6 separate regions of the Homo sapiens genome follow, and regions 1, 2, 4, 5 and 6 are each linked to region 3. Evidence: promoter capture Hi-C in 16 types of primary human blood cells and fetal thymus (Javierre and others, 2016). All regions are on one chromosome and are shown on one strand. The core of a region is centred on a gene start or on the middle of the fragment in contact, and the rest is flanking DNA. Distances in the headings are between cores, read along the strand shown. Region 1 has its middle 21 kb from the start of IGBP1. Region 2 has its middle 16 kb from the start of OTUD6A. Region 3 holds the start of NALF2 (NALCN channel auxiliary factor 2). Region 4 overlaps EDA (ectodysplasin A). Region 5 overlaps IGBP1 (immunoglobulin binding protein 1). Region 6 holds the start of IGBP1 (immunoglobulin binding protein 1).

Evidence for each region. Contacts are between HindIII fragments. The CHiCAGO score rates a contact against its expected background, and 5 or more counts as called.
Region 1: a fragment that was not itself captured here is called in contact with the fragment with the promoter of NALF2 in region 3 in 4 of 17 cell types (M0 macrophages, naive CD8 T cells, endothelial precursors and 1 more); the score reaches 7.5 in M0 macrophages.
Region 2: a fragment that was not itself captured here is called in contact with the fragment with the promoter of NALF2 in region 3 in 8 of 17 cell types (naive CD4 T cells, naive CD8 T cells, non-activated CD4 T cells and 5 more); the score reaches 7.6 in naive CD4 T cells.
Region 4: a fragment that was not itself captured here is called in contact with the fragment with the promoter of NALF2 in region 3 in 1 of 17 cell types (M2 macrophages); the score reaches 9.4 in M2 macrophages.
Region 5: a fragment that was not itself captured here is called in contact with the fragment with the promoter of NALF2 in region 3 in 1 of 17 cell types (total CD4 T cells); the score reaches 5.3 in total CD4 T cells.
Region 6: a contact is called between a fragment that was not itself captured here and the fragment with the promoter of NALF2 in region 3, in 7 of 17 cell types (M2 macrophages, naive CD4 T cells, M0 macrophages and 4 more). The highest score is 11.2, in M2 macrophages.

What each region holds. Positions count from the first base shown.
Region 1 is chrX:70,110,368-70,114,662 of GRCh38, forward strand. No RefSeq gene overlaps it. Among named protein-coding and RNA genes, the nearest start is that of IGBP1, 21 kb to the right of the region's middle. RefSeq lists an enhancer at 416-1,615. The HindIII fragment of the contact is 3,435 bases long and covers 847-4,281 here.
Region 2 is chrX:70,076,279-70,079,999 of GRCh38, forward strand. No RefSeq gene overlaps it. Among named protein-coding and RNA genes, the nearest start is that of OTUD6A, 16 kb to the left of the region's middle. The HindIII fragment of the contact is 4,007 bases long and covers 125-3,721 here.
Region 3 is chrX:69,502,181-69,505,945 of GRCh38, forward strand. NALF2 (NALCN channel auxiliary factor 2) reads left to right here and starts at 2,146. Exons shown (of 3, transcript NM_015686.3): 1 at 2,146-3,765. The coding sequence starts at 3,103. RefSeq lists a silencer at 3,099-3,272. The HindIII fragment of the contact is 10,696 bases long and covers 1-3,765 here.
Region 4 is chrX:70,015,724-70,019,615 of GRCh38, forward strand. The region is part of intron 2 of EDA (ectodysplasin A); the gene reads left to right. Among named protein-coding and RNA genes, the nearest start is that of MIR676, 5.2 kb to the right of the region's middle. The HindIII fragment of the contact is 4,558 bases long and covers 1-3,892 here.
Region 5 is chrX:70,156,222-70,160,205 of GRCh38, forward strand. All of the region lies in intron 6 of IGBP1 (immunoglobulin binding protein 1), which reads left to right. It overlaps LOC107985683 (a long non-coding RNA gene), which reads right to left. Exons shown (of 2, transcript XR_001755877.2): 1 at 1-3,984. Among named protein-coding and RNA genes, the nearest start is that of DGAT2L6, 19 kb to the right of the region's middle. The HindIII fragment of the contact is 7,472 bases long and covers 1-3,984 here.
Region 6 is chrX:70,129,968-70,133,693 of GRCh38, forward strand. It overlaps IGBP1 (immunoglobulin binding protein 1), which reads left to right and starts at 3,480. Exons shown (of 7, transcript NM_001551.3): 1 at 3,480-3,573. The HindIII fragment of the contact is 408 bases long and covers 2,091-2,498 here.

The sequences.
Region 1 (4,295 bases), core at 1,314-3,813, 610 kb after region 3:
ATTTTTAGTAGAGATGGGGTTTCACCATGCTGGCCAGGCTGGTCTCAAACTCCTGACTTCAGGTGATCCACCTGCCTCGGCCTCCCAAAGTGCTGGGATTACAGGCGTGAGCCACCACATCCAGCCAAGACTCAGCAATGTTTTAAACAAAAAGTCATTTTAAAAAATTTAATCTTTTTGTCAGTTCAGTTCCATGTAATTAATTCTCATTCTGCTTGATGTTAAGTTACTAGTTTCATGAGCCCATCAGTTTCTTCGTTACAGTTCTGGAAATTCTTACCCAGTCCAATGGTATGATCGTAAAGTTATCATAAACCTGTATCCCAGAGTACAGAGTACTGTATCATTCATTTAACAAGAGTCATAATTAAGACTTCAAAGGCAAATAAAGAATAGCCTTAGCTCTTATAATAGATAGGACTCTGTTTTCTTTTAAGTAGTCAAAGACCTGATAAAAGACAACATGAAGCACAGGAAATTATTTTGATAAGTAACAAAAATCTTTTCATTTAGGCAGATCACTCAAAAGGTAAAAACAAATCTTTCACTGTCTCTCATCACTACTATAAGAAAATCTTGTCATTTTAAAGGAGAAGACCAATTCTAGTTTTGCCATCAGTGTACTTTTGATATTAAGGCTCATTTTTAAAACGCTTATAACAAATTCATTAAATTTTAGTCAGTTTGACCACACAAGATTCTCCCTCACTTACTCTCTCTCTTCCCAATTTTACATCCATTAAATTTTTGTCCATCTTTTCTTCATTTGTTCTGAAACAATCTTTAAATAACCTCCCAACTGAACAAAATTATCTTTCTGTAGAAAGTAGAAAAGTTCGTCTTCAAAGCTTATCTTGGTTTAAAAATAAAATAATAGACACTAGGAATAATAGCTTCTTACTCTAAAGCCTCCTATCAACTATCAGTTCTTATACTTTAGCCCCGTTAGCTGCTTTGGCTTACCCGGGCATGTCTGGACAGGCCCAGGCAAGTCTTAGCTTATAGCTTACAGCCCTTCCTCATTTGGAAATGTTATTGCTTCCTTAAACCTTTCATAAGCAACTTCCTCTCCTTCTTTGTTCCCCCTTGCACTTACCTATTTAGGAAAGATTTAGGCTATCAGCAAATCGGGTATCAGTTTAAGACTGTGAGGTCCAGCTCCAGCCAATGGATGCAGGACACAGCAGTAAGGACAACCCAAATGTGTAAGGGATAAATATGTCTTCTTTTCCTTTGTTCAAGTGTGCTATCACCATTGTTCCATCTGTGAGAGGCACCCTTTCTGCAGAAAGTAAAAATGGCCTTGCTGAGAGAATTAAATTTATGTTCAAGTGCTATTTCTTTGCAGCACCAGGGAACAAGCATTTCTAACGCTTTCCCTCAACAACAAAAAAACACATTCACATACCGTAGATCATCTTTCTTTGTACATTTTGTATACAATGTTCTCTTATTTCTAGTAGTTTTGATTACATGTTAGGATTTTAAGTCTTAGTAACCGATATAGTTTGACCCTGTCCCCACCCAAATCTCATCTGGAACTGTAATCCCCATGGTGTCAGGGGAGGGACCTGTAATCCCCATGTGTCCAGGGAGGGAAGTGATTGGATTATGGGGGCAGTTTCCCCTATGCTGTTCTTGTGATAGTGAGTGAATTCTCACAAGATCTGATTTTTTTTGTTTTGTTTTGAGTCTTGCTCTGTCACCCAGGCTGGAGTGCAGTGGCTCAATCTAGGCTCACTGCAACCTCCACCTCCCAGGCTCAAGTGATTCTCCTGCTTCCAACTCCCAAGGTGCTGGGATTACAGGCACATACCACCATGCCTGGCTAATTTTTGTATTTTTTTAGTGTTGACAGGGTTTCGCCATGTTGGCCGGGCTGGTCTCGAACTCCTGGTCTCAAGTGATCTGCCCACCTTGGCCTCCCAAAGTGCTGGAATTACAGGCGTGAGCCACTGCATCCAGCCTCGAGATCTGATGGCTTTTAGAGTGGCAGTTTTTCCTGCACTCTCACTTCTTCCTTCTGCCACCTTATGAAGAAGGTGCCTCATTGTAAGTTTCCTGAGGACTCCCCGGCCATGTGGAATTGTTGAGTCAATTAAATCTCTTTCCTTTATAAATTGCCCAGCCTCAGGGAAGTTCTTTAGAGCAGTGTGAAAACAGACTAATACAGTAACCCTAATTCCTAGTGTAAACCTAGGAAGTAAGCAATGTTGAACTGTCATGTACTAGCACTTTATTAATACACATTTCATAATTTTTGCAAACATGTTTTCTGCTAGAACAATTTTTCATTGTGGAACAGGACATACTTACTAACAGATCCAAAATATATTTTGTACTTCTATAGAATTCAAGAAGCCGAAAGTAAATAAACTTATGTTCAGAAATTAATGTTTTAGTATTTTATCTTATTTGGAAATGATCTGGATGTTCAGTGAATAGCCACCATTCAATTTAACTTAGCAAAACTCTGTAGGTAGGAGTTACCAAAGAGATTTGGGAAACTTTTTAAGTAAACATATAATAAAACATAATTATTGTTTAAGTTTATTTATAAATTTTATTTACATCTTATTTAATTTACTCATTCTTAACAATCATGTTTGGATTACTCATGAAAATTTCATGAGACATTAGACAAAACTAGCCATCAACTCAAGTTATTTCACTATTAACTTTTTCTTTTTTTGTTTTTGAGACAGAGTCTCACTCTGTAGCCCAGGCTGGAGTGCAGTGGTGCAATCTTGGCTCACTGCAACCTCCACCTCCTGGGTTCAAGCAATTCTCCTGCCTCAGCCTCCCTGGTAGCTGGGATTACAGGTGTGCGCCACCACACTCAGCTAATTTTTGTATTTTAGTAGAGACGGGGTTTCACCATGTTGGCCAGGCTGATCTCAAACTCCTGACCTCAAGCAATCCACCAGCCTCAGCCTCCCAAAGTGCTGGGATTACAGGCATGAGCCACTGTGCCTGGGCACTATTAACTATTTTTACAGCATATGCATGTCAGGCAGTCATCACCAAAGCAAATTACATGGGTGTTTTTTTAATTTGTTTGTTGGTTTGTTTCTTGTTGACAGCTCAGAAGATGCAGCTGTTTTCATTAAACCAACAGTAACAAGCTAGTCTTATTTACCAAAGATTTACCCAAGTCACATAAACTTGAAAAATATTTGAGTTAGTTATCATATTTCTAGCAGTTTTAGTTTTTCATTTATATAAGCACTCATTTACCTCTAAGCCAATTTGGTTTTTGGTTTGTTTGAGACATGGTTTTGCTCTCTCAGCTAGGCTGGATGTACTGCAGTGGTGCGATCACAGCTCACTGCAGCCTCATCTGCCAAGCTCAAGCGACTCTCCCACCTCAGCCTCCCAAGCAGCTGGCACTTGCAGACACACACGACCATGCCCTGTTAATTTTTTTTTTAAGTAGACACAAGGTCTCACTATGTTGCACAGGCTGGTCTTGAATTCTAGAGCTCAAACAATCCTCACATCTCAGCCTCCCAAAAGAGTTGGGATTACAGGCATGGGCCACCATTCCCAACCAATGTCTACAGCCAATTTGAATAGAACTCCTTTAAGAGATTTTATACCATGGGCCTGGTGCGATGGCTCATGCCTGTAATCTCAGCACTTTGGGAGGTTGAGGTGGGCAGATCACTTGAGCTTAGGAGTTCAAGACCAGCCTGGCCAACATGGCGAAACCCAGTCTCTACTAAAAGTACAAAAATTAGCCAGGACTGGTGGCAGGCCCCTGTAACCCCAGCACCTTGGGAGACCAAGGCGGGTGGATCACCTGAGGTCAGGAGTTTGAGACCAGCCTGGCCAACATGGCAAAACCCTATCTCTACTAAAAATACAAAAGTTAGCCGAGCGTGGTGGCATGCACCTGTAATCCCAGCTACTCTGGAGGCTGGGGCAGGAGAATCGCTTGAACCTGGGAGGCGGAGGTTGCAGTGAGCCGAGGTCACACCACTGCACTCCAGCCTGGGTGATAGAGCAAGACTCCATCTCAAACAAAAAATTAAGAGATTTTTATATCATGTAGACATAACATGCAAACATGCTTGTATACACACATCCATAAGCATACATAGACATACAAACAAACACAAATAAAGATCTTATGGCATTTTACTTTAAAAGTTTTAGTCATGAGGCAGTAAAATATAGTAATATAAACTCACTGGTTTATCCCCTCATATATTTTTATGTAAATTGTGTTTCTGACCCCCAAAATTAGAACAAATTAAGGTTACCTGCTCACATGGCTGAAGCTTTTTTTTTTT
Region 2 (3,721 bases), core at 878-3,377, 570 kb after region 3:
CAGAGGTATTCAAAAATATAAAGGACCATCTCACAAGGAGGCTTGTAAGCCAGGCTGGATAACCACTACCTACCACCTCATAAAGAGGTTTTCAGGCCATTCAAGCACCTGATGGTAATTTAGAAGCTTTCCACCTCACCTGAGGATTTAGAAAACAAAAGAGATTTCTTTTGCATGGAGGTGAGGAGTGAACCAGAGGAAGCAGACAGCCCTAAGTAATGGGGAAGGCTAGCTTGGGAGGTGGAGGACCACTGACAGAGGTTTGCTTTGGCCCAGTTGAGTCCTCTTTCTAGAACCACATAAATGTTAATCCGCAACCAGGCCCTGATCAGTCTTGAGTTTGTTGAGCTGAAGAAGCAGCCTGAGGTGGAGACACCACGACTACAATGTTGATTCCAATCCCCCTTCCTAAGTGCAAATCAGCTACTTCAGCCCAACTTGGAGAGTTGCTTAAGGGACCTATTCTAATGAATAGCCTAGAGTGACTGGAACACATTCTCAAGTGTGTAAATAGTGCTTTTGAAATATTTGAGGGGGCTTAAAAACAGCTTGTTCTCTTTAAGTAGCCTATTCAGTTAAACAAAATGTATCAAGTATCTCCAATGACAGGCACTGCTTGCTGGGTTGGGGCCCAGGAAGGCCTCAAAACAGTTAAGACTGCCTTGGTGCTCTCCAAGGAGGCCTAGCCTCAGAGGTGAGACCAACATAAATCCAAGTGACCCCCAATCCAAGGCCCAACAGTAAGTGCTGTGGTCCAATAAGAAGATGAGGAAATGAAGTGGGGATGCCCTGGGCCAGCTTGGGGTGGAGGAATCACAGAGCAAGGGAAATGGGGAGACTTGAAAGGCCAGCTTAGATTTAGGTGGGCAATGCTGAAGGCAAGGGCATTCCAGGTAGAGGGAACCCCATTAGGCAAACACACAAAGATGACAGTCTGCGAGACACATGTAGAGAACAGTTGTTCACATTTCCAGCATCCATTGCCCACTATTCCTGCAAAAGCCCCCACTTATCCTTTGGTGCACCAACTCTCTCCCACCCTCTTAAGTTGAAAGGGGTTCACCAGGGCCCTCCCCCTTAGGCCTGCCAATTAAAATACCTCTTCTCCCTGGCCACAGTGACTGGTTCACGATGTTATATGTAAAAATGTTTATTTAGAAATAGAATGTTTGTTCCCCAGTGCCACAAAGAAATAGCACTTGAACATAAATTTAATTCTCTCAGCAAGGCCATTTTTACTTTCTGCAGAAAGGGCACACTCGCCAGCAGTTTTGCCACAAGAGTATACCGAACAAAAGAGACAGGGTCATTTATAACCTGACGCATTCACCCTACTGCTGTCACCGGTTTCCACTGGCTGCAACAGGACCTCACATTCTGTATTTGTCCCAATTGGCTAGCAACTTAGAACTTTTTAAAAGAGGCAAAGGCAGAAGAGAACAAAGGAAGGAAGAGGTAACTTGCGGAATGCTGAGAAAGGTAAAAAACTCCTCCAAATAAGGAAGGGGAACGGGCTATGACCTAATGCTTGCTTGGACCAGTATAAGCATGCCAGGGCAAATATTTAGGCTAAATTGTGGGAGCTAAGAACACAAAGTACATTGATTTCTGTATTACGGCTAGCGGATATTTTAAAACGTTAGCACAGTTATTTGAATAAATTTCGCTTCTAAGAGAAGTTACTATTTATTCCTAATTAGACGGAGAGGAAAGTCTCTTTGAAGAGGAACCTCTACTTCACTTTTTACAAAGATGAGCTCGTGGCCTGGGCTCATCCAATCAGAGGAAAAGTCAGGATATGATGGGTGCATGAGCTTTGTTGCTTTTTTGTTTTGAGATGGGGTCTCGCTCTGTCGCCCAGGCTGGAATGCAGTGGTGCGATCTCAGCTCACTGCAGCCTCCGCCTCTTGGGTTCAAGCAATTCTCTCACCTCAGCCTCCTGAGTAGGGAGGGATTACAGGCGCCTGCCACCATGCCCAGGAAACTTTTGCATTTTTTGGTAGAGACGGGGTTTCCCCCTGTTGGCCAGGCTGGTCTCAAACTTCTGACCTCAGGTGATCCACCCGCCTTGGCCTCCCAAAGTGCTATTACAGGCGTGAGCCACCGCACCCGGATGCTTCATTGCTTTTTTTTTTTTTTTTGAACCTTGGTCCATCTTAACCTTCGGATCAGGACTGCTGCAATTGCTACAGGCTGTTCCCTTTGAAGCCACCTTGGAAAATCACCATATTGAATCAGTTCCTCGGAAGAGGCTATTAAGGCCTTCCTGGAATTGCAGGTGAGTTCACAGTTCTTGGAAAATCCCAATCAGAATTTTGTTTGAAAGGAGGAAGGAAATGGGTAGCAACAACAGCATTTTCCAATGTTCCAAATCTATGTGCACGAAGCAACTTTTTCTAGAATTCTCAGCCACCTGGAAACCAAGAAGAGGTTACTCAGGGTATATTCTAGCCCTCAATCATTACTGAGGGTACACAGAGTACTCAGTTTTTTATCATAAGGACCAGCCCCCACAGCAACTTCTTGAGCTACCTTTTCTGTAGAGCCTTGACTCAGCGACCACCCCATACCTGAGATAAGAGATAATGTTTTTTCTGCAACTTGCTCACCCTTCCAGGAAAAACTCTTCTTTACTGACGATTTAGAATGTTACAATATAGGCAATGGAATCCATTAAGTTAATGTTTTCAGAAGAAATGAGACATCAGAGCTATGCTTTAGGAATGACACAAAGGATGACATTTGGGGGAAATAATGAATTGCAAGGAGAGATTGAAGAGAAGAAGATGAATTGAGGGTTTCTCTTTTAATTCATGACAGATGATGCTGACCTGGATTGGGGCAGTGGCAGCAGGGAGAGAGGAGGGGACCAAAGTCGTGAACATTAGGAATAGAATTAGCATTTATGTGGAGATTAAGGGTAAAGCCAGGATCAGAGGTGATCCTGGTGATTCCCTGGTTTCTAAGTAATTCTGGAAATGGTTCACTGAAACTTAGGCCCTTAAAAATCCCTTAAATCAGGGCCGGACACGGTGACTCACGCCTGTAATCCTGGCACATTGGAAGGCTGAGATAGGAAGACTGCTTGAGCTCAGGGATTCAAGACCAGCCTGGGCAACACAGTGAGATCCCGTCTCTACAAAAAAAATCTAAAAATTAGCCAGGTGTGGTGGTATGTCCCTATAGTCCCAGCTATTTGGAGAGCTGAGGAGCTGAGGTGGGAGGATAGCTTGAGCCTGGGAGGTTGAGGCTGCAGTGAACCGTGATTGCACCACTGCATTTCAGCCTGGGCAACAGAGCAAGACCCTTCCCCTCAACCCTTAAATTGTCCATTCCTCCCAATAAAATCCCTTAAATTGTCTATCAAGTAGAGTATATCCAGTTTCATGTATACAACCTTTGTACACTAAAGGTTTTTGGTACCTCTGAGCTAAACTAAAAAGAGGTGTGCGTGTGTGTGTGTGTGTGTGTGCGCAAGCGAGAGAGAGAGAGAGAGAGAGAGAATGTGAGAGAGAGAGAGAGAGAGAACAGACTATCTTAGAAAAGATAAGAAAGTACAAGAAGACAAACTCAGTGGCTAAGGGGCAGGGTGTGAATGTATTGCTTATTCAAAATAATAAATATGGTTAAAATTTAAAATATATATAATTAAAATTAATAAAGTTAGTAGCAAGCCAAGCATGTGTCAAGAGTCATCCAGCAGTAACCCTCAGCAAACAAT
Region 3 (3,765 bases), core at 896-3,395:
AACTACTTTGCAGGTTTCTGAACGTACCATTCCTGGCGTTACTTCTGGTCCTTTACACATAACATTCCCACTGCCTGGGACATCCTTCACACACCGCCTTCTTTGCTACCTGTCCAGCCGGTCCTTACTCATCCCTTAAGGTTTCAACTAAACTCCTTCAGCTCAAGACACATATTTTACTCATGTCTATATTGCTGATGCCTAATACAGCATCTAGAATGTAATAGATCCTCAATAGATGTTTGACAAAGGAATGAATCAATGAATGAATGACTCAACTCCAGCGGCTGTGTGCAGAATCATCTCTGAGGGAATCTGGCAAAGTTGACTGGTCCCTCCCTCTATGGGAGGGACACCTACCATCCTTATTGCACTAGGTTGCAATTTCTTCTTTAACATGTCTGCCTCTCTAATTCAACTGTGAGCACCTCAAGGGCAGGGCCGTCTGATTCACCGCAGTATCCTACTTAGCCCCTAGCACAGTGCTTGTAACATAATGAATAAATAGGCCTCCCAAATGCCTGACAGTTTTGTCCCTTGTCTCATTTCCTGCTACTCCCTTCCCCACAAATTCTCACCATCAATATAGCCAAACTGCCACACTCGTGGCTTCACAAACATACAAAGCTGCTCCCTACCCCTGAAACTTTTCATCTGCATTCCTTTTATTTGGAATGCCCTTCTCAACCACCCACCCTAATCCTGCTACTTTAGAAACTAGCTCCATTTGTCCCTCTTCCAGAAACCTTTTATGTACCCACCCCAGTCCACCTCTGAGTAGTGCTAACGATGCCCACCCATTTCATTTGATCCTTGGCATCCCTTCGTGTTACTCAGGGGAAAACCAAGACTCAGAAAAGGAAAAGACTCTCAAGGGTACACAGCATATCAGCAGTTGAGTTATTTATCCAAGGCTCTAGTTCATGAATCCTCCCACTAGCCAATATACATGTCTTGTTTCCTTATATAGACTATAATTTCCTTTAAGGAAGGAATGCCTTGGCTCTTTCATCTTTCCAGGGCCTTACTGGAGTGTTAAGAGAATTCTAGAGTCAGACTGAGTTTCTTTTTTAGCTGCTCTGGTTACTTTAGGCAACAACCACACTAAACCTCAGCTTCTTTGTATGTAAATGAAGATAACAGTAGTACCTATCTCATAACACTGTTGTGAAGATTGGATGACGAATGCATGCAAAATGTATAGAGCAGTACCTAGCACATAGTACGCGCTCAATTAAGGCTATTTTCTTTATTGTTATTCTTAACATTAACAAATGCTTGCCGGCAACGGTTGACAAAAAATTACAATGTGAGTTACTGGGAGTGAGGAAGGCAAGCAGACCACAGGGTCAGTGGAGTCCAAACAAGGTTAGTGGCGCGTCAGGATGTTTGTACGTCCGAATTCCTAGTGCCATGTGACTCTGTGAGGGCCCAAGCACATGGTTCCATCCGGGCGGCGCAGCTTCTCTAACTCTCAGTCAGCTATTCTCAGCAGCCTGTAGGGGGAGCCAAAAAGCTAGGACGGGGGCTGGTGCTTGGGTGGGGGGCGGGCGGGTGGGGGGTGGAGGCTGCTGGAAATATTCCTAAGGGCAAACACCGACACCCCACCACTACTATCTTAGCCCACCGCCTTGCCCCCTCCAGGACGCTCTCCAAACTCAGTCTTCCTCAGCAGCTAAGCTGGGAGCTGTCCTTCAGCACCAAGGGCCGCCTTGTCCTCGGGCAGGACGGTGAGGGCGAAGGTGGAGTTAGGGACACTGGACTGGTCCGATCCGCAGCCGGCTCGAGCGTCTTCCAGTCACGGGGACGGCGGAGGCGACCCAGAGAGGCAGCAAGCAGCTACGAGATGCCTGCTGCTCCTTGCCTCCAAGAATCACCCTCAGAAGTCCCCTAGCCCTCGGGGGAGTGAGGGACGGCCATGGAGAGGAAGGCGGGCGCCCGGGTTAGTGGGGGAGGGGGAGCGCCGAGGCCTGGGACTCAGCGTGTGGCATGTGCACGCGGGCAGCGGGCGGATGAACGGAGGCGCTGAAGTGAATGGAGTTGGGGGTGGACTGGAAACATCCCCAAACAGCACCGGCTGCGGCCGGCGGGGGCTGGGGCGGGGTGGGGTGGGGGGAGTCCTGAGGCGCAGGCGCAGTCGGGGCACCAGTCCCGCTCCCTCCTCCTCTCCGTGCCTCTTTCTCCGCCCTGCTCCCCGCCAAACACACTTGCACAGGGGCTCTCAAGGTGTTCTCCGCACAGCGGAAGATGGCGACAGACTGAGGGTGCATGGCCAGCGGGAGCCACGGGGCCGTGCCGCTGGGCTGCAGCCACAGCGGTGCGAACGAGAGGCGGAAGCGAGAGGCGCACTAAGTAAAGCCCGGTGTCTGCGTCCGGCGCCTGTGGCGCTGCCGGGAGCCAGGTGGCCCGCCCGAGCCGGAACTCCAGGAGCAGCGGGTGCGGAGCCAGAGCGGAGCCCGCCAGGGACTGGCCCCGGCGAACACCCGGAGCGCGAACGAAGCCCGAAGGGCCCGGCAACGGACCGGCCGGCCGGCCTAGGAGGGCGCGAGCGAGGCAGGGAGCGGCGTGGAGCGGGCAGCGGGCGGACGGGCGGGAGCGGAGCGGCGCGGGGCGAGGGGAGCGGAGCGGAGCGCGGCGGCGGGGCCCGCACGGCGGCGCTGAGGGGCGCAGAGCTGCGCCGAACCGAGACGGCCGGTTTGGAGTGCGAGCCGGGCGGCCGCCGGCGCGGAGTGAAGTGGCACGGAGCCGAGGGCAGCTGAGGGGCCCGACACTATGAGGAGTGCGGCGCCGCCGCCGCAGCCGCCACCGCCCCAGTGCCCCGCACCGCCCCCAGCCGGGACGCCGGGCAGCGCCTAGCGGGCCGGGCGGCGGCGCCCGGGCTGAGAGCGACGGAGCGCGGGAGCGGCGCGGAGACGGCACCAGAGCGCCCCGCGACTCCGGCCTGAGCGGGGCATCGCGCCGGCCGGCCTGCCTCACCATGCAGCCCCCGAGGTAGAGCCTGGACGGCGCCGAGGAGCGCAGAGCGGCGCGCAGCCCGCCCGCCCCAGACGGCCGTCTGGCCTCGCGCCTGCCTGTTCCCTCCAGCCCGGACCCCCCTGAAATATGTTCAGGGGCGCTTGGATGTGGCCCGGGAAAGACGCCGCCGCGCTGACTATCTGCTGCTGCTGCTGCTGCTGGGCTCCCAGGCCGAGCGACAAACCTTGCGCCGACTCCGAGCGGGCGCAGCGATGGCGACTGTCCCTGGCGTCCCTGCTCTTCTTCACCGTGCTGCTCGCTGACCATCTGTGGCTGTGCGCGGGGGCCCGGCCCCGGGCCAGGGAGCTGAGCAGCGCCATGCGGCCCCCATGGGGGGCCGGCCGGGAGCGGCAGCCGGTGCCTCCTCGCGCGGTGCTGCCGCTGCCGCCGCCGCCGCCCGGCGAGCCCAGCGCGCCCCCAGGCACCTGCGGCCCCAGATACAGCAACCTGACCAAAGCCGCCCCCGCCGCCGGCTCTCGGCCGGTCTGCGGCGGCGTCCCAGAGCCCACGGGGCTGGACGCAGCTTGCACCAAATTGCAATCTTTGCAGAGACTTTTCGAACCGACTACTCCGGCCCCCCCTCTGCGGCCCCCTGACTCCCTTTCCCGTGCCCCGGCCGAGTTCCCCTCCGCCAAAAAAAACTTGCTCAAAGGCCACTTTCGGAACTTCACTCTCTCCTTTTGCGACACCTACACGGTCTGGGACTTGCTGCTGGGCATGGACCGCCCCGACAGCCTGGACTGTAGCCTG
Region 4 (3,892 bases), core at 933-3,432, 510 kb after region 3:
GGTAAATATGGAAATGAAAGACCATTACTGGCTACCACAAAAGCACAATTAGGTACATAGACCATTGACACTATAAAGCAACTATACAATCAAGTCTACATAATAACCAGCTAACAACACAATGACAAGATCAAATTTGCACATATCAATATTACCCTTGAATGTAAATGGGACAAATGCACCAATTAAAAGTCACATAGTGGCAAGTTGGATAAAGAAGCAAGACCCAACTTCTTTCTTCAAGAGACCCATCTCACATACAGTGACACTCATAGGCCCAAAGTAAAGGGATGGAGAAAATCTGCCAAGCAAATGGAGAAAGAAAAAAAAAAACAAAAAAAAACAGGGATTGCTATTTTAACTTCAGACAAAACAGCCTTTAAACCAACAACAATTTTAAAAGACAAAGAAGGGCATTACATAATGGTAAATGGTTCAATTCAACAAGAAGACCTAGCTATCCTAAATATATATGTACCCAACACAGGAGTACCCACATTTATAAAACAAGCTCTGAGAGACCTACAGAGAGACTTAGATAACCGTACAGTAATAGTGGGAGACTTCAACACCCCACTGACAGTATTAGAAAGATCATTGAGGCAGAAAACTAATATAGATATTTCAGACCTGAACTTGATACTTGACCAAATGAGCCTAACAGACATCTACAGAACTCTCTACCAATTAAAAAAAAACCCAGAATATACATTCTTCTTATCTGCACATAGCATATGCTCTAAAATTGACCACACAATTGGCCATAAAACAATTCTCAGCAAATTAAAAAAGAAAAACAGAAATCATACCAACCACACTGTCAAACCACAGCACAATAAAAATAGAAATCAATACCAAGAAGATCACTCAAAACCATACAAATAACCTGCTCCTGAATGACTTCTGGGAAAATAATGAAATTAAGCAGAAACCAAGAAATTCTTTGAAACTAATGAAAACAAAGATACAACTTACCAGAATCTCTCGGGCACTGCTAAAGCAGTGCTAAGTACTAGATGCCCACATCAAAAAGTTAGAAAGATCTCAGATTAACAACCTAACATCACACTTTGAGGAACTAGAAAAACAAGAGCAAACCAACCCCATACTAGCGGAAGACAAGAAATAACCAAAATCAAAGCTGAACTGAATGTATTTGAGATGTGAAAAAACATACAAAAGATCAATGAAATCATACTTGGTTTTTTGAAAGAATAAATAAGATAGACCACTAGCTAGAGTAATAAAGAAAAAAAGAGAGAAGATCAAAATAAACACAGTCAGAAATGACAAAAGGGGCATTACCATCAATACAACAGAAATGCAAAAAAAAAAATCAGAGACTATCAAAAACACCTCTATGCACACAAACTAGAAAACCTAGAAGAAACTGATAAATTCCTGGAAACATACAACCTCCTGAGACTGAGCCAGGAAGAAATTGAATCCCTGAACAGACCAATAATGAGCTCCAAAATTGACTCAGTAATAAATAGCCTGCTAAGAAACTAAAAAGCACAGGACCAGGTGGATTCACAGCCAAATTCTACCAGATGTACATAGAAGAGTTGGTACCATTCCTACTGAACCTATTCCAAAAAGTTGAGGAGGAGGGGCTTCCCCCTAACTCACTCTGAGGCCAGCATCATCCTGCTACCAAAACTTGGCAGAGACAAAAAAAACTTCAGGCCAATATCCTTGTTGAACATAAAAGCAAAAATCCTCAACACAATACTAGCAAACTGAATCTAGCAGCACCTCAAAAAAGCTAAGCCACCACAATCAAGTAGGCTTTATCCCTGGAATGCAAGGTTTGTTCAATGTACGTAAATCAATAAAAATTATTCACCACCTAAACAAAACTAAAAACAACAACCACATAATCATCTCAATAGATGCAGAAAAGGCTTTCAAGAAAATACAGCACCACTTCATGTTAAAAATCCTCAACAAACTAGGCATTGAAGGAACGTACTTTAAAATAATAAGAGCCATTTATGACAAACCCACAGCCAACATCATACTGAATGGGCAAAAGCTGGAAGCATTCTTATTGAGAACCAGAACAAGACAAGGATGCCCTCTCTCACCACTCCCATTCAACACAGTATTGGAACTACTAGCCACAGCAATCGAGCAAGAGAAAGAAATAAAAGGCATCCAAATAGGAAGAGAAGAAGTCAAACTATCCCTCTTTGCAGACAATATGATTCTATACCTAGAAAACCCCCATAGTCTCTGCCCAAAAGCTCCTTGATCTGATAAACAACTCCAGCAAGTTTCAGGATATAAAATCAATGTACAAAAATTAGTAGCATTCCTATACACCAGCAACATCCAAGCTGAGAGCCAAAACAAGAATGCAGTCCCATTCACAACAGCCCAAAAAGAATAAAATACCTAGGAATACAGCTAAACAAGGGGTGAAAGACCTCTACACTGAGAATTACAAAGCACTGCTCACAGAAATCAGAGATGACACAAACAAATGGAAAAAACATTCCATGTTTATGCGTCAGAAGAATCAATATTGTCAAAATGGTCATAATACCCAAAGAAATTTACAGATTCAATGCTATTGTTATCAAACTACCAATGACATTCTTCACAAAACTAGAAAAAACTATTTTAAAATTCATATGGAACCAAAAAAGAGCCTGAATAGCCAAGGCAATCCAAAGCAAGTAGAACAAAGCTGGAGGCATCATATTACCTGACTTCAAACTATATGTTAAGGCTGCAATACCCAAAACAGTATGGTACAGATCGAACAATGGAATAGAATAGGTAGCCCAGAAATAATGTCACACACCTATGACCATCTGATCTTTGACAAAATTAACAAAAACAAACGATCTAGAAAGGACTTACTATTCAATAAATGGTGCTGGGATAGCTGGCTAGCCATAAGCAGAGATAATTGAAACTGGGCCCCTTCCTTACACCATATACAAAAATTAACTCAAGGTGGATTAAATCCTTAAATTTAAAACCCAAAACTATAAAAACCCTTGAGGAAAATCTAGGAAATACCATTCTAGACATAGACCCTGGAAAAAAATTTATGACAGAGACATGAAAAGCAATTGCAACAAAAACAAAAATTGACAAATGGGACCTAATTAAACTAAAGAGCTCCTGCATAGCAAAACAGCAAAAGAAGCTATCAACAGAGTAAACAGACAACCCAAAGAATGGAGAAAATATTTGCAAACAATGTATCTGACAAAGATATATCCAGTATCTATAAGAAACTTAAACAAATATACAAGCAAAAAAACAAGCAACCCCATTAAAGAGTGGGCAAAGGACATAAACAGACACTTTTCAAAAGAAGACATATACATGAGCAGTAAGCACATGAAAAAATGCTCAGCATCACTGATCATTAGAGAAATATAAATCAAAACTAAATGAGATACCATCTCACACCAGTCAGAATGGCTATTACTAAAAAAATCAAAAAATAAGAGATGCTGGTGAAATTGTGGAGAAAAAGGAACACTTATATACTTCTGGTGGGAGTGTAAATTAGTCCAGCCATTGTGGAAAGCAGTGCGGTGATTCCTCAAAGAACTTAAAGCAGAATTAGCATGCAACCCAGCAATCTCATTATTGGGTATATACACAAAAGAATATAAATTGTTCTACCATAAAGACACATGCACATGTATGTTCATGGCAGCACTCTTCACAATAGCAAAGATGTGGAATCAGCCTAGATGACCATCAACGGTAGACTGGATAAAGAAAATGTACGTACATGTCATGGAATACTATGCAGCACAGTAGACTGGATAAAGAAAATGTACATACATGTCATGGAATAATATGCAGCCATAAAAAAGAATGAGATCATGTTCTTTGCAGCAACATGGATGGACCTGGAGGC
Region 5 (3,984 bases), core at 28-2,527, 650 kb after region 3:
TGCTCTTAGAAAAAGGGCACCAATAGACTTGCTCGCTGCAGGGTTGCCACAAACCTTCAATTTGTTAAAAAAAAAAAAAAAAAAAAAAGTCTCTGCAAAGCACAATAGAGTGAAGCACAATAAAACGAGGTATGCCTTCACCTTCTTTTCAGATACCCATGGAACATTCACCAAGGTAGATCATATACTGGTCCATGAAATAAGTCTCAATAAATTTTCAAAAATTGAAATCACACTGAATATGTCCTCAGACCACAATGGAATTAAATTAGAAATCAATAATGTACCTAGAAAATTCTCAAATATTTGAAAATTAAACAGTACACTTCTAAATAACCTATAGGTCTAAGAAGAAATTAGAAAGAAAATTAGAAAATACTTCTAACTGGGAATAAGTTCAAGAGATCTGTTATACAGCATGGTGACTATCGTTAATGGCTGGGTGCGGTGGCTCACGCCTGTAATCCTAGCACTTTGGGAGGCCGAGGCGGGTGGATCACCTGAGGTTGGGAGTTCAAGACTAACCTGGCCAACATGGTGAAACCTCGTCTCTAATAAAAATAGAAAAATTAGCCGGGCGTGGTGGCGGGCGCCTGTAATCCCAGCTATTCGGGAGGCCGAGGCAGGAGAATCGGTTGAGTCTGGGAGGCAGAGGTTGCAGTGAGTCAAGATCACACCATTGCACTCCAGCCTGGGCAACAGAGCAAAACTCCATCTCAAAAAAAATGAAAATAAAATACAGAGTAGATGTTAAGTGTTCTTACTGCAAAAATAACAATGTGTAAGGTACTGCATCTTTTAATTAGCTAGATTTAGCTATCCCATAATATATACTTCAAAACATACTGTACACAATAAATATGTTTGCCCATTTAAAAATAAATAAAAGAGAATACTTTGAACAGAATTACAGTGAAAGTACAGCATCAGAATTTATGGGATACAACTCGAGCAATGCTGAGATGGAAATGTGTGTAACTTTCAACACTTATGTTAGAAAAAAGGAAGATAAAATCAATTACCTAAGGTTTTACCTTAACAAGGGTGGGGGTGGGGGCATAGGGAACAAAGAAAGCCCAAAGTAAATAGATGAAAGGAAATAAAGGCAGGGAAACTAGGGGTGGTCATGGTTCTGGTAGTAATGCACAAAAATTGGACACGTGTATACTCCCATGACCTGGCAGTTTCACTACTCGGTATATACCTAAGAGGAGTGAGACCATATGTCCACAAAAGACCTGTACAAGATTGAACATAGCAGCATTATTTGTAATAGTCCACACTGAATACACACCACTCAAATGCCCATAAATAATAGAATGAAGAATAAATTTTGGTATATTCACACAATGGAAAACTATGTAGCAATAAGGTTAAACTATAGTTTGTTTGCTATAAGTGACAAATATAGCTGAATCGTGTGAAAAAAGCCAGACGCAAAAGAGTATATACTGTATGATTCCATTCATACAAACTTCAACAAACAGGTGATACTTGTGTGTGCTGGTTGAAAGCTAGTAAGTGTTCACCCTTAGTTGGGGATCATGAATGGAACTGGACCTACAGGGTCTTCTGAGGAGTTAGAAATATTTTGTATCTTCATCTGGGTACTGATTACATGGATGTGTTCAATATGTGAGAGGTCACTGAGCTATACAAATGTTAGTATACTTTTCTACACGTATGTTGCACTTCAGTGAATGTGAAAAAACCCATGGACAATATTTATAATGAAAATAGGTGGCAGTGTATCCCCATGAACCTCACAATAAAAACAGGTAAGGGCAAATTACCCATAGCCACAAGATCCAGCAGTTATTGGCATCTGTGCAGGAGAAAACCAGAGTTGACAGGCCATCTGAAAAACTTGACAAACAGAATTCCAAAACAGTGTATTCCCTAGAAAGAATGGCAGTCCAATTTAAGAACTGCAGTTGAAACTGGGAGGGATGAGTATGAGGGTCCAATAGTCAGAAGGTCTGAAAGCGATAGAGTAGTCTAGTCCTTAGTGAACTCTTGAAGTTGATCCACCGGTCTCCCTTCCAGGACAGGGACTCACACTGAGGAGAAATTGCTGAGAGTAGAATTGAAATTAAGCAGGACAGGAATAGAAAAAGAAAGAAAAGGTCCAGATGAAATTAGGAGAGAGGACCAGAACCAGGAACTCCAATCAAGCAAGTAATCATATTTCTTTAATTCACATGAAAACAGCAGAAAGGGAGCCCTTATGAAGTTAGAAAAGCTACTCTGAACCATGCTTCTTTCTACAAGTTTAGGAAAACATTTCACGTAAAAATGAACAACAGATTGTGGTGATGGTTGCACAACTCTGAATATAAAACACTGAACTGTTGGCTCACACCTGTAATCCCAGCACTTTGGGAGGCGGATCACAAGGTCAGGAGTTTGAGACCAGCCTGGCCAAGATGGTGAAACCCCGTCTCTACTAAAAATACAAAAAAAAAAGAAAAATTAGCCGGGCATGGTGGTACGTGCCTGTAGTCCCAGCTACTTGGGAGGCTGAGGCAGGAGAATTGGCTTGAACCTGGGAGGCAGAGGTTGCAGTGAGTCGAGATCGTGCCACTGCACTCCAGCCTGGCAACAGAGTGAGACTTTGTCTCAAAAAATAAAAAAACAAAAAGAAACACTGAAATGTATACTTTTAAGTGGGTAGATTTTATGGATTGTGAAATACAGCACAAAGCTGAGAAAAAGGGAACAGAAAATTATCAAAGTCAAACCCTACACAAAGTTATTAGAAGAGAAAAACACTACAGAAAGACACGCTCAAAAAAACAGAACAAATCTGAAACATGGTATCCAAAAAAGAGTTGGAAGATATTCAGAAAATAACATAGGACATGGAAGGACAATATAAAGCAGGATTAGAAAAACTCAGAAATATGACAGCTTGGGGAACATGAATCATTTCAGAAATATAGGCTAAAGTAGAAGGAAACAAGAATGAGTGAACACAACAGAAAATGCCTTACTATGGTAAAAGGAAGGAAAATTTTAAAACGAAAAAAGATAAACAGGGTTTGAGGAAAAGTGACATATACTAAAGATAGTAAAGAAGACCTGGCATATAGATAATAGGATTATCTGAAGAAGAAAGCCAAAGCAAGGAAAAAGAATAAATGCTAAAAGTTAATATTAAGGAAAGTTTCTTGGGATTAAAAAAGTTGCGCGGGGGGAATCTCTTGGTGTTGGGTGTGACGCGACCCACAGGCAGCCACAGCAGTGCTGTGTTCCAAGGCACGGGTGCTCAGGGTGGCTGTGGAGCTTGGTCCTGGGTCCAGTGTCTTCTTGAACTGCTGCGGGACCTGTGACATGGGTGCAGGTTCAGTCTCAGGCACAGGTGGATGCTGCTCTCCCACCAAGGCAAGGACTATGACTCTGAGGCACTTCTCAGTAGCTCGGGCCCAGGGGCAGGGACGTAGCTGTGATTCCTAACCTGGGGGTCAGGGCATAGTACTGGCATGGCTCTGGGGAGGGAGGGGTGTTCCAGACGCTCAGACCCCAGGGAGCAGGGCACAGTGGCAATTCAGGCACCAGGAAAGAAGATGCTGTATAGTGGTGACTCTGGACCCTGGAAGCTCTATGAGGCCGGGTGCAGTGGCAACACAGCCCCAGGAATGGTAGGGCATAGCTGTGGCTTGGGCTCCAGGGGGTGGGATGCAGTGCAATGTTGGCTTTGCTCCCCAGGAAGGTGGGACACCTCAGTGGCTCAGACCCCGGAGGGCTGGTCCAGATCCAGGGAGGTGGGGGTGCTATTGCCGTTTGGCCCAGAGAGCAGTGTGTACAGATTAGCCAAGGCTGTGTTTCCCTGGGGGGTCCAGGGACCTGGTGCCATGCAGGCTAAGGCACCAGGGTCCCAGCTGCCCCCCTGGGCCAAAGCTCCAGTTCCCTGGGGCTGAGACACTGCACCAAAGAGGCACAACTGCTGCCCGGCACCAGGCCCAGCTTCTCCATGGGGCCTAA
Region 6 (3,726 bases), core at 1,045-3,544, 630 kb after region 3:
CAGTACAGTACTATCACAGGGGGATGAATCAAATGCTATAAGAGCTAAGAAGGAGGTAGCCTCGCCTACAGGGGAAAATCAGGAAGTGCTTCCCAGAGCAAGTGATCTTTGAGCCAAGTTATGAGTAATGAATAGAAATTTGCCAGGCACAGACAAGGAAGATGACATTCCAGGCAGAAGGTACCACCTATGTGAATGCATGAAGGCCTAAGAGAACATGATAGGTTTGGAGAACTAGGAGAGTTTGCTAAAGATTCAGCTTAGGATCCACGAAGGAACAAAATGAAAAGGATGTCAGCAGGCAGATTAGAAAGGATCTTAAAGTCATGTTATTGAGTTTGACCTTTAACAGAATGCCCCTCCGGGCCAAAGTTATTCTCTCCATTCCTCTAACACCTTGAACACACCTTTATCAAAATATTTATCAAATTAACATTTGATTATTTGTTTACCTGTCTCTTCCGTGGAACTATGGACCCCTTAAGAGCTTAAACCTCGGGTAGTGTTCGAATTCTCAATGCCTAGCATTCAGGTAGCACACAGCATGTATGGAAAGAGCAAAGGAAGGAATTTCTCCAAGGTCCCACAGCTATTCAGTAGCAGAGTTGGGCTAAAGGGATCCTCCCACCTCAGCCTCCCAAAGTGTTGGGATTACAGGCGGGAGCCACTGCACCTGGCCAGATTAATGCTTTTTATATTGTGTTACTTAGAGCCCTTGAGTCCCTCACCTGGAGTGCCACTCACTGAGCAGGTTGAGGAAGATGGGCCAGTGGCTGAGTTGGCAGGCTTCTTTGTATCCTCTTCAAATACATCAGTCCTTTTAGAAATTACAGGCTCTCTAAAACTTGTTTTGGAAAAAGAATTATGCTACTACAAAAAGTTTAAGTACCGTTATACTTTCATGATTGTTAAGTGCCCTAAACTAGGATTTTAAAAAGTCTCCCATGCACAACAGGAGTTTAATATGATAAAGTGTTTACACACAAAACACAGCAAACGACTCGTTTTTATTATTCCTTTTTTTCTTTCTTTTTTGTGAGACAGAGTCTCGCTCTGTCGCCCAGGCTGGAGTGCAGTGGTGTGATCTCGGCTCGCTGCAGCCTCTGCCTCCCGGCTCACTGCCTCAGCCTCCGGAGTAGCTGGGGTTACAGGCCCGCGCCACCATGCCCAGCTAATTTTTGTATGTTTAGTAGAGACAGGGTTTCACCATGTTGGCCAGGCTGGTCTTGAACTCCTGACCTCAGGTGAGCTGCCCACCTCGGCCTCCCAAAGTGCTGGGATCACAGGCATGAGCCACCACGCCCGGCCATTATTCCTTTTTTTCTAACCACTTTTTAATCTTGGTATTCTTTCAGAATAAGATGAAATGCAATGCTTAAAATGACAACTCTAATATATAACAGGCACTCTGAAAGTAATTGGCATCTCCCATAAAGACCGTCATTTTGGCTGGGCACACTGAATCACGTCTGTAATCCCAACACTTTGGGACGGTGAAGCGGGTGGATCACTTGACCTCAGGAGTTTGAGATCAGCCTGGGCAACATGGCGAAACCCCGCCTCTACAAAAAAATACAAAAATTAGCCAGGAGTGGTGACTTGCACCTGTAGTCCCAGCTAATTGGGGGGCTTGAGGGTAGAGGATCACTTGAGTCCAGGAGGCGGAGTTTGCAGTGAGCTAAGATCGTGCCAATGCATTCCAGCACTCCAGCCTGGGTGGCAGAGTGAGACCCTGTCTCAAAAAAAAAAAAAAAAAAAGACTAATTTTGAAAGCCATAAAAAATGACTTACAAAGTTTAAGACCAAATTAAGACTGTGCACATTTTTTTCCTCTTAAGTAACAGTAAAGACATGTTTTAATCCAAGCAAATGCAGAGAAGCAAATTATCTTTACTCTCACAATTACTACATTTCTAAGTCTCCTCCACAAGTACTATCTTTTTCTTTATATTCCCTGCCAAGCCTGACCCTGAAAGGTCAGTTTACTAGAGGTGCCAGATAAACCAAATAGGTAATTCGCCAAAGCCTCACTTCCTTCTTAGTTTATAAAGCAGGGGTTGCAAGGGAAGGTTTATTAGAATCACCTGGGAAGCTTTTTCAACCTACATGTGTGCCACAGCCTCCTCTCCCTCTTAGGAAGCACTGTTCTAGTTTGGGGCTTCAATCTGTCCCACATTAAAGGTCTTCATCTTTCTAAATCCTACCCAACTGAAGGTTAATGGAGTAGAAACAATTGAACGCAGAAGTCACTGACTTTGTCACAAACTGGCTGGACAAGTCCCTTAACCTTTCTGGTCTCAAGTTTTTCCTCCGATTTTGGGGGTTCCCTTTAAACTTTGACATTCTTCTATGTGACCGCATGTCATGTCTAAGAAGCCTTCTGAACTACTCCTAGCATGGGATGACTTGCCCTTTCTTGCTTTTCCAACAGCCTGTGCAATACAACATATCACCTATTTTATACTGTCCTATATTGCCCTCTAGTTGTTTTTTAATGAAGCTTTTTTTCTTCTCAACGATATGTAGTTTAAAATACTAGTTTAAAAGTTTATTTTCAGGGGTAGACAGTGTGCCTGCTACTTAAATCTCCTAGGACAATTCAGGCTGCGTCCTAAGGTAATCAGTATGTATTTATATTGCTTTGTTCAAAACAATGACGTCCCTTCTTTGAAGTCCTGAAATTATGTTTTCCATCAGTTCTGTCCAGTAGAAATATAATGGGAGCTACAAATATAGTTTTAAATTATCTGGCAGGCACATTTACAAAGTGAAAAGAAAGAAGTACAATTAATTCTAATAATATATTTAATCCAACATATCCAAAAGACTATCATTTCAACATGTAGTCCATGTAAAAAGTATTTACATTTTTCATTCTTTTTTTTTTAAATGTCTTTGAAATCTGGGGTGTTTTTTACACTTGCAGCACATCTCGATTCAAAATAGCCACTTTCAAGTGCTTAGTAACCACATGTAGCTAGTAACTACCTACTGAACAATGCTGTTCTGCATAAGTTGGCTGCTTTCCAAACTGATCACTTTTTTTTTTTATTCAGATAATGACTGATACTGAGTACTCAGGCTAGCCAGAGTGGTGCAAAGATGAGTCAAATTCATTCTGATAAGAGAGATTTGTAAGTCACTAGCAATTATACAGCGTGGTAGGTGCCATGATAGAGATGCATAGGAGAAACCCAGACTTGGCGGCTGAAGGGCACAGGGTGGAAGGCGGTAGAGAGACAAGGAAGGTTGCACAGAAATAACATTTGATGTAGGAACTAAGTGCACGAAGGGAAGCCGGCTGTGCGGTGACCGGAGTTGCAGGTTGCCAATCTTGCTGAGGGGGGCTCCACCGGACGCCGGCCTACGGGTCGTAGGCGTGTGTGGGGTGAAGGGGGAAGAGGACGGGAGAGGATTGGCTGGGAGGAACCCGGAGCTCCATCTGGTGGGTGGACGGAAACCGCAGGGGGGCGCTACTTGCACTTCGCGCTCAAGCGACCGGATCTTCAAACCGTGGGAGTGGTGCGGCGGCTAGAGTCCCTGGACTCCTCAACCTAGGGAGCTACTCGCGAGGTAAGGGGCGCGCCAGACTGGCTCCTAAAACGCACTCGCTCGTCCGCACTCCTCGCGCTCCGAATTCAGCCTCGCCTCACCCGGGCTTCAGAGCCCACAGAACTTCTCAGCCCCGTGTCGGCGACGAGGAGCTCATGGTAAAACAGCGCCTAG